Linked DNA regions of Homo sapiens: region 2 is linked to region 1. The links are contacts of gene promoters, found by promoter capture Hi-C in human tissues and cell types (Jung and others, 2019). All regions are on one chromosome and are shown on one strand. The core of a region is centred on a gene start or on the middle of the fragment in contact, and the rest is flanking DNA. Distances in the headings are between cores, read along the strand shown.

The links. Contacts are between HindIII fragments. The study calls those that stand out against the background at their distance.
Region 2: a contact is called between a fragment that was not itself captured here and the fragment with the promoter of GJC3 in region 1, in 2 of the 25 tissues and cell types used here (lymphoblastoid cells and mesendoderm cells).

The regions. Positions count from the first base shown.
Region 1 is chr7:99,926,133-99,931,553 of GRCh38, reverse strand. It overlaps GJC3 (gap junction protein gamma 3), which reads left to right and starts at 1,934. Exons shown (of 2, transcript NM_181538.3): 1 at 1,934-2,714. The coding sequence starts at 1,934. RefSeq lists enhancers at 1,551-2,135, 2,136-2,721. The HindIII fragment of the contact is 8,959 bases long and covers 1-5,421 here.
Region 2 is chr7:99,696,243-99,701,184 of GRCh38, reverse strand. All of the region lies in intron 13 of CYP3A7-CYP3A51P (CYP3A7-CYP3A51P readthrough), which reads left to right. It also overlaps a transcript of ZSCAN25 not described here and the pseudogene CYP3A51P. Among named protein-coding and RNA genes, the nearest start is that of CYP3A5, 19 kb to the right of the region's middle. The HindIII fragment of the contact is 7,451 bases long and covers 1-4,942 here.

The DNA of each region.
Region 1 (5,421 bases), core at 685-3,184:
TACAGCACTTCCACCTTATCTGTGGGAGATATGTTCCAAGACCTCCAGTGGATGCCTGAAATTGTGGATAGTACCAAACTCCATATATACTATGTTTTTTTTCCCCATATGTACATCCCTATGATAAAGTTTAATTACAAATTAGCACAGTAAGAGATTAACAACAATAACTACTAAGAAAATAGAACAATTGTGGCTGGGCATGGTGGCTCATGCCTGTAATCCCAGCACTTTGGGAGGCCGAGGCAGGTGGATCACAAGGTCAGGAGACTGAGACCATCCCGGCCAACATAGTGACCCTGTTTCTACTAAAATACAAAAAATTAGCCCGGCGTGGTGGTGCGCCCCTATAGTCCCAGCTACTCAGCAGGCTGAGGCAGGGGAATTGCTTGAACCTGGGAGGCAGAGATTGCAGCGAGCCAAGATCGTGCCAGTGCACTCCAGCCTGGTGACAGAGCGAGAGTCCGTCTCAAAAAAAAAAAAAAAAAAAAAGAAATAGAACAACTGGAACAATTGTAACAATATGCTGGCATCACTACTCTTGCTTTTTGGGGCTATTCTTAAGTAAAATAAGAGTTACTTGAACGAGTATTGATAGTTGATCTGATAACCAAAATGGCGATTAAGTCACAAACCAGCAAGGAGCGTCTACAGCGTTGGATACCCTGGACAAAGGGATGATTCACATCCTGGGTGGGATGGTGTGAGATTTCATAGTGCTACTCAGAACAGCACACAATTTAAAACATTAATTTTGTATTTCTGGAATTTTCCATTTAATATTTTTGGACCTCTGTTGACTGTGGGTAACTGAAACTGTAGAAAGTGAAATCGCAGATAAGAGGGGGGACTACTGTATTAGGTTCTAGCATATGCATCTTGATCATCATTCAGACCATACCACATGGTCTTCTGAGTGTGAGGGTAACCAGATGAGTGAGAATTTAGGCTAAATGGGGACGGTTTGAAACAGCTGCTGGGCATTGGGGAAGGCAGCTGATTAGGACAAATATAGAGATGGTGAACTTGGGCTTGTAGCATTGTGGTATTTTGGCTGGGGAACAGAGGGATTTCTGAAACTTATCCTTGATCATGGTCGCCTGTCACCATGAGGGAGATAATATGCCCAAGGAACAATGGCAAGTGGGGGTCAAAAATCTGAATTTCTATCTAGTCAGTTCTGGCTCTGGCCCCAAATCCTATAGTATGTAATTCTGGTAAATTCTGCTGGGTTACCTTCCAAATGTTCTCTTCTTCCTCAGCTTGTAAGGCCTAAGAGCATCAGACTAAAGCAAGCCTCGATGCTTGCTCTGTTCATTTCATCCATCACATCTAGCCCCATAACCTAACTACCTCTCAACTTTACCACTGTGATGGGAGAAGAGGACATCCAGACACACCTGTGATCATCCAAGGGCATGGAGGAAGAGAAAAGAAGACCGCAAGAGAATGCACATTCCCTCTCAGCATCAGCACTAATTTGCTTAAGATGATGCTGTAGGAGCACCAGGCCTGGCAGCCATCAGCTGGGGAAGCAATACCTTTCAAAGGAAAATTAACAAAACATCCCAGTCTACTCTCTTACGTTCAGCCTTTGGGAAAGAGAGACGGAGGGAAGGAGGGAAAGAGAGAGATGAAGATGTATCCTGGTCTCTCCAACCTGAGAGTTCCTCTCCACTCCAGCAGTACAGAAGGGGAGGGCAGAAGAGAGAGCCACACCACACACACTCACTGTTATTATTTTACATAGATGATTTCATTAAGTAGTAAAGAGGTGCAATCAGAGTCTTGGTATTTAATCAGTCAGATACTTGGAGAGGAATAAAAAAGCTTGCCTTCAGTGATCCTTGGATTAGGAGTGACAAGGTGGACTGGAGCTCCCTCTGAAGGACAGTGAACAACACTGATCTCTTGTCCTCTGCTCCAAAACAGGATGTGTGGCAGGTTCCTGCGGCGGCTGCTGGCGGAGGAGAGCCGGCGCTCCACCCCCGTGGGGCGCCTCTTGCTTCCCGTGCTCCTGGGATTCCGCCTTGTGCTGCTGGCTGCCAGTGGGCCTGGAGTCTATGGTGATGAGCAGAGTGAATTCGTGTGTCACACCCAGCAGCCGGGCTGCAAGGCTGCCTGCTTCGATGCCTTCCACCCCCTCTCCCCGCTGCGTTTCTGGGTCTTCCAGGTCATCTTGGTGGCTGTACCCAGCGCCCTCTATATGGGTTTCACTCTGTATCACGTGATCTGGCACTGGGAATTATCAGGAAAGGGGAAGGAGGAGGAGACCCTGATCCAGGGACGGGAGGGCAACACAGATGTCCCAGGGGCTGGAAGCCTCAGGCTGCTCTGGGCTTATGTGGCTCAGCTGGGGGCTCGGCTTGTCCTGGAGGGGGCAGCCCTGGGGTTGCAGTACCACCTGTATGGGTTCCAGATGCCCAGCTCCTTTGCATGTCGCCGAGAACCTTGCCTTGGTAGTATAACCTGCAATCTGTCCCGCCCCTCTGAGAAGACCATTTTCCTAAAGACCATGTTTGGAGTCAGCGGTTTCTGTCTCTTGTTTACTTTTTTGGAGCTTGTGCTTCTGGGTTTGGGGAGATGGTGGAGGACCTGGAAGCACAAATCTTCCTCTTCTAAATACTTCCTAACTTCAGAGAGCACCAGAAGACACAAGAAAGCAACCGATAGCCTCCCAGTGGTGGAAACCAAAGAGCAATTTCAAGAAGCAGGTGAGAAGGACACGCTCTCTTCCTGTCACTGATGTTTGTGTCCTGATGATCTCCTCCCGGGGCAGGTCCCTCACCTTTCTGGGAAGTACAACTTCTGCATGTTACAAAGTAGGTAACCAGGTTCTAGGCAGATGTGTTCTGACCGCCACTCCCAACCCTTTTCTTTGTTCTCTCTTGCTCTCAAAATCTATCCCAATGTCCATCCCCATCAACTTGATGGTTCCTTCCAGCGAACAAGGACAAGAGTGCTAGTCCGTTGTCCCTCCTGAACTTCCATTTAGGTCTCTCTCCACTTAGGAAAAATCTCAGCTTCTTCTTGATTCTCTACTTTGCAGAGTTATAAAGACACCTGACTTGCCTGAAGGAAACTCTGTGATTGAATCTTCTTTCCAACATCCAGTGAGTGGGGATTCATGTCTGTGACAAATTAGAGGCTGTTGAAGGATCTCTAAGGGCCCCTTGGGCCATGTAGTCTAAAGCATTTCCTGACTGTGCCTTTTCACTGGAATTTTCTGGTGTCAGCATCACAATTTTTATGGGCTTGGTTCAAGAGTCAGCCGGGAGAAGCCTCCCTAAACTGTGTCTCTCCCCTGTCCTGCTCAATAAATATTGATGACTGCTGTTGGCATTCCTGTTGCTGAAGATAATGCCCCTTCCTGTCTCACTGGCTTCATTTACCTCTTTTCTGTTTTTCCACATTCTCTGCTCCCCTTATCATCAAAGTTTTGTAAATGAATGCCCCTCAGACCTGCAGCACATGTCATAAGCCAGAAACTCTGGGCTTCAAGCATATATAAGTCAGTGTCCTCTAATATCTATAGATTTATCCAAATACCCGGCCATATCCTTAAGGAAAATTACTGTGAATTCAGGGGCTTAGGCCCCCTTGATCACTGATAGCTCTGATTTCTGCTCAATTCTCATTCTTCATTTCTGCAGTTCTCGTTGCAGCTTGTTACAATTGTCTCCAGAACTGCAGCAACTCATGCTGGACCAAGTTCCTACTCTTTAATTTCATAACCCTCAATACCACACAGAAAAAGCAGTAGAGTTCTACTGCTGATATGCTGATTTGGGAGTAACAGCAAGGGAGGCTGACATCACAGTGTGATTCGGCGGGTAACTGCAATCTGAATATCAGTCTTCTCGAGTCTCTTAGTCATTTCTGTTGGACAGTGTTGTTCTATCCCTTTTTTTTTTTAACAGAACGCTGCCCTCTTTTCTTAGTTTTCTCTTGCCCTGAAATTCTCAACAAAGGCAGTTATCTATTTTTTTTTCTCTTTCTGAATCCCAAATTATCCCCAAGTAAGTTAGGGGATCCCAAGGGATGCTTTGGCAATAGCTAGGAAATTTTTTTTTTCTTCCTGCTACACAAGTGCTTCATAAGAATCCCTCATCCACTGTAGCCAGAGCCCAGCCAAAGTGACCAAGGAAAAACGCAAATAGCATCATTTGGAATTCTTCCTTATACCACCCCCTTTTAAAACAGCTTTATTGAGATATAATTCATACACCATATAATTTATCCACTTAAAGTGAGGCAGGAGAATAGGTTCTGGAGGAAGGGAACCTAAGGCTGTTTCACGCCAACTTCCTAGGACTAAATTGAAAGGAAAACTCTAACTTTCCTTGCCTAAGTAACACAAGGACCAGAGGCTACTCCCTTTGCAACACCCCCACCTTTTCTGTGCAGCAGATGGGAAATTGCCTGTCCCCAACAAATCAGGCTGTTTGCAGATGAGTCTTCCTTTGCAACTTCGTAACTTCTTCCTAGCCTCTGATTGGTTGCTTTCTGCAAAGCATGAACTGGCCAAAGGGAAACTTCTAGTGGGTACTGGGACCCAAGAAGATTGTGTATCCGTGCCCTTGAACCGCTGCTCGGATTGCTCCCACACTGTGGCGTGTACTTTGGTTTTCAATAAATCCCTGCTTTCGTTCTTTTGTTGCTTCATCCTTTCTTTGCTTTGCTAGGAGTTTTGTCCAATTCCTTGTTCAAAACGCCAAGAACCTGGACAACTTGCAGTCACTATCCTCTACCAGTGACAAAAGTATACAATTAAATAGCCTTTAGTATATTCAGAGTTGTATATCCATCAACACTACCAATTTAATAACATTTTCATCAACTTAAAAAAACCCTACCCCCTCATGTTACTCTCAAACTCTTATTAGCACCCAAAACATGCAACCATCATATGGTTTTGTCTCTATTGGTTTTCCTACTCTTTCATACAAATGGAATCATGCAATATGTGGTCTTTCATGTCTGGCTTCTTTCACTGAGCATAACTTGAGGTTCATTCATGTTGTGGCATGTTTCAGTATTACATTCCTTTATATGGTTGAGTGTTATTCCACTGTTAGGATATACCACATTTTGTTTAAGGAGATACCACATTTTGTTTATACATTCTTCAGTTTCAGGACATTTGGGTTGTTTCCATTTTTTGGCTCTTATGACCACTGTTGCTATGAACATATGTGTACCACTTTTTTTTTTTTTTTTGGGATGGAGTCTCACTCTGTCACCCAGACTGGAGTGCAGTGGTGTGATCTTGGCTTATTGCAACCTCCACTTCCTGGGTTCAAGCGATTCTCCTGCTTCAGCGTCCTGAGTACCTGGGACTACAGGTGCGCACCACCACACCCAGCTAATTTTTGTATTTTTTGTAGAGACAGGGTTTTGCCATGTTGGCCAGGCTGGTCT
Region 2 (4,942 bases), core at 1,674-4,173, 230 kb after region 1:
TTTGTGGGATCTACAAATCAAAACAATTGAGCTAATGTCTGGGTCTTAGTCAATTTTGTACCCTAAGTACAGGGAGCACAGCCATTAGAATACATGATGAATGCTTTAATACAGGAATGAATAGGTGAGAGGCACAGGGTGGTTGGGTGTTCTTCTGATACATAGTATCTTCCTTGACACATTCAGTACAACTCTCAACAGGTAAGTCTCTTCATGTATGTTACCTTCTGAGGAATTAAGTGGCAGAACATGCCTTCTATTATTTTCCTTTGCAGAACAAGACCAATTGCATTAGTTGGGAAACAGTGCTGGCTGCATCTGAGCCCCAAGCAACCATTAGTCTATTGCTATCACCACAGACTCAGAGGGGATGACACACAGGGGCCCAGCAATCTCACCCAAGTCAACTCCACCAACATTTCTGGTCACCCACCATGTGTACAGTACCCTGCTAGGGTCCAGGGTCATGAAAGTAAATAATACCAGACTGTGCCCTTGAGGAACTCACCTCTGCTAAGGGAAACAGGCACAGAAACCCACAAGGGTGGTAGAGAGGAAATAGGACAATAGGACTGTGTGAGGGGGATAGGAGGCACCCAGAGGAGGAAATGGTTACATCTGTGTGAGGAGGTTGGTAAGGAAAGACTTTAACAGAAGGGGTCTGTCTGGCTGGGCGTGCAAGGATGTGTAGGAGTCATCTAGGGGGCACAAGTACACTCCAGGCAGAGGGAATTGCATGGGTAAAGATCTGCAGTTGTGGCTTGTGGGGATGGATTTCAAGTATTCTGGAATGAAGACAGCCATGGAAACAAGGGCAGGTGAGAGGATATTTAAGAGGCTTCATGCCAATGGCTCCACTTCAGTTTCTGATAAGAACTCAGGTTCCGTGGACTCCCTGATAAAACTGATTAAGTTGTTTATGATTCCCCATAGAATATGAACTCAAAGGAGGTAAGCAAAGGGGTGTGTGCGATTCTTTGCTACTGGCTGCAGCTGCAGCCCCGCCTCCTTCTCCAGCACATAAACATTTCAGCAGCTTGACCTAAGACTGCTGTGCAGGGCAGGGATGCTCCAGGCAGACAGCCCAGCAAACAACAGCACACAGCTGAAAGTAAGACTCAGAGGAGACAGTTGAAGAAGGCAAGTGGCGATGGACCTCATCCCAAATTTGGCGGTGGAAACCTGGCTTCTCCTGGCTGTCAGCCTTGTGCTCCTCTATCTGTCAGTAACTGTCCAGATTCCTCTCCTCTGTTAACTTGGACTTGGGGTGCTACTCAGGCCCCTGTTCCCTCATCTGTTTTAAAGATCAAAAGAGATGTTCAAGGAGGAGTAGCTTCTTGGATGCTACAAACACATAGAGGTTATTATTGATCTTATGCAGATTTATGAAGAAATAAATAAGCATTTGTCCCAGCCACCTTCTAATTTTGGTGACTAGGAGGGTTTGGGGACAGCATTTGTTAGTGGGAATGATTTGATTAGCTTAGATTTGACCTATACTAATCAATGAAAATGAAAACCCAGCAAAGGCAGATTACAAACTGCTGAACAAGACGAGAAGTGTGATCCTCATCCCCTTCCCAGGTTCTCGGGATTCTGGGGGCAGGAGGGAGCAGCTTGGGTTTTTGTCTCATTACCTTCATTTTCTGGGTTCTCTGTCTGCTGGAAGAGATGTGTAGAAGTTTTTCCTCTGTGGACCTGGTGGTTCCTGCTCCCCTAACTTCCACCCCAGGATATCATTTACATAACACACCGGGGAACACCAAGACTTCACGGGAAGCTGTCCCCCGGCTCTTCCCTCTTTCCTGTGCCATGTCCCAAAACATCCCCTCCCTCCTATGACTCACTCCTCCACCCTGTCATACACAGAACTATTTACCTTGCAATGATTAATCTCCAGAGCAAAGGAGACTTGGAGGAAGTTTTGAAGATTTATTCTTTGCTTTAATCTTTTTCCTCCCGTCTCTGGGAGGCTAGCATTAATATAGAGCTTTGTTTCTCAGCTAATGGGAATCTGCTAGCAGCCTGAAAAGGCAGGAGCTGTGAAAGCCAATTTGGATTTTACACATTTTTTCCCCTTTGTGTTACAGTAAAGGAGGATGAACCCTCTCACTGGTGGGATTCCTGGCATCCTAGAGCAGGTGGAGAGAAGAGTTACTTTCCACTGTGGTTAGTGGAGGCTCCACCTGTCCCATTAACTTCTACCTCAATTTGACTTTTAAGAGCAGGCAACAACAATGACATGAAAATAGGAAATATAAACTTCATTTTAATTTTTTCACAGAAAGCTTAGGAATTCAGTGAGTTGTGGCAACATGGTTTCCATTGTCTAACATTTTAAAATGAATTGATATGGTTTAAATTCATTCATTTTTAAATCAGAATTTTTTGGAGATGGAATATTTCCAGCATGTTCCTTCTGGATGATGAAAGAGGGCTGTTAGTTCAGTATTTGTGACAATAAATGTGTGTAAAATAACATCACCTCTCCAGAATAATGTCAGGAATATGAGTCTAAAGCATGAATGTATATCGCTAAGACAAGACTGCGATATACATATTTATGTATATCTTTTTATATTTAAAAAGATATGTCTTTTTAAATATACATGCCTGACAGTTTATTTTAATACCTCCTTTTTGAATATACCTGCTTAGCAGGTTATCTTAAACTGTCAGGCAGGGGAGTAAGCAATACTGTGAGCTAGTGATGATAGCAAAGGCATCCACGTAGGATCCGTATGAAGTAAGAAAATATTCCTCAGCTCTCAGGGTAGAACTCCAAAGAGATATTCATGGGTCCTGGCCCCACAGTGGAGGTCACTCAAAAGGCAAACAGGTTGGCATCTCATCTGCTTCAAGCCTGGACACAGGGACATCAAATGTGTCACTGTGTGCGTGGTCTGCCATGTTGTGGGGCGGTCACTACAGACTCGGGCAGCCAGGCAGACAATGCCTTAGCCTTAGACAATGCTGGTGCAGCCCAGGAGTCAGAAACTGTAGTGTAGACCATGCCCTCCTTAGGCCAACACAATTACGTGCAATAGATGACTGGCTTTTCTGTTAGCCTCTTCATTGGAACCAAAAGTGGTATTACTCTACCAGAGGGGAGCTAGAAAGAAACTAAACAGTTTGCCCAGCACAGCCTCTGCCTTGACATGGAACCATGTGAGTCTAGACACTCACCTAGATCTTTCCTTGGGGGACAGTGCTGCTGACAGATTAACTCAATAGTTTGTCCTGACCTGAGAGATCACGTAACTTCTAGAAAGTGTAGAAGCAGAGATTAGTGTCATTGATTTGCCATAGCTGTGACAATAAAAGAAGGAACAGGAGTAGAAAACCCAAGGCCACCCTGGTTTCAGTAGATGGTGCACACATTTCCACTAACTATTCTGGGGCAAGGATCCAAATGCACTATATGCTGCCTCTGCTGGGATCTCCAAACACGACCCTCCATGCCATTTCTCAGTTGTATTTTACCACATATTATCAGAGTCACTGGATTTGTACAGAATGTTTGGAACCTATACTGCCTTAAGTGCTACCCATTATAGAAGAGAAAACAAGGTCTTCATTCAACTGTCTGGAACATTTTATGTTTACTTATGTGGAATACTGTACCTTTTGCTATCAACAGGAAGGTACCTGGACATTAGAAGGTGCCTGTCTTTCAGCTGAAAGCACACATGACGCATATGGATCCATTTATATACACCATACTTTTCAGCCACATTTTCCTAATTTGCCTCTCTGGGACCAACCTTGTGGGACTAGCAGATTCACGGTTGAGTTGATGGCTGGTGATGTCTGCCATCAGCCTTTCTTCTTCCTCCAGTCTTCCACCCCTCAGTAACATCAGACTGGGAAGGTCTTCAGATATCCAGAACCCTCAGTTGGGGGAGTCCATACATGACCCATCAAAGATGAGTTGCAAGCAGGCCTGCCATAGGGAGCAGCAGCCTTAATGGGTTTTCCTACAGAGATACTTGATGTGCAGAGGCAATAAACTGACTGCTTTGTGATTGATCACCTTGAAAAAAGTGAGCATATCTGGGTGTATTAGTCCTTTCCTACATCGCTGTAAAGAAATACCTGAGGCTGGGTAATTTATAAATAAAAGAGATTTAATTGGCTCATGGTTCTACAGGCCCTACAGGAAGCATAGCGACTTCTGCCTCTAGGGAGCCCTCAGGAAATGTTCAATCATGGCAGAGGGTGAAGGAGAAGTAGGCAGATATTACATGGCTGGAGCAGAAGCAAGAGAGGGTGGGGAGGAGGTGCCACACACTTATAAGCCACCACATCTCATAAAAACTCATTGTCACGAGGAAACACCCAAAGGGGGTTGGTGTGAAACCAGGAGAAACTGCCCCTAAGATACAATCGCCTTCCATCAGGCCCCACCACCAGCATTGGGGATTACATTTCCACATGAGATTTGCGTAGGGGCAGATTCAGACCATATCACTGGCAGTGTGCTTATTATCAGGTGAATACCACCAGTTGGAAGGCTAGATTCCACAAGAGGAGGAATGTCCTGGAAATTGGTTTTTTAAGTTGTGGATCTTCTGCACACTGTCATTCAGGGAAATATGAGTTAATCATCCTCCCCAATAGCGCAAATCAACCAGATCATCTGGCCACAGAGACTGAGGTGTAGCTGAAAGGTGCTTGCATTTCTACGAGGCCAATGGAAGCCTTCAGCACAGTTGTCAATCTGTAGAAATAAGGACTCTGTGACTCCTCTGACACCCCTCTATGAATGACAGTTTAAGAAGGGCCAGATCCTAAAATAGGGTCAGAGCTTAGAGGGAAAGGAAAGTATAAAAGACTCTTCACAAATTCTAAAGACATGGTCACCATAGGCTCTCAGTGACCCTCTGTGACTGAGTGGATGCAGTGATGCAAAATCTCATCATCACTGCAGAAGAGAAAAAAA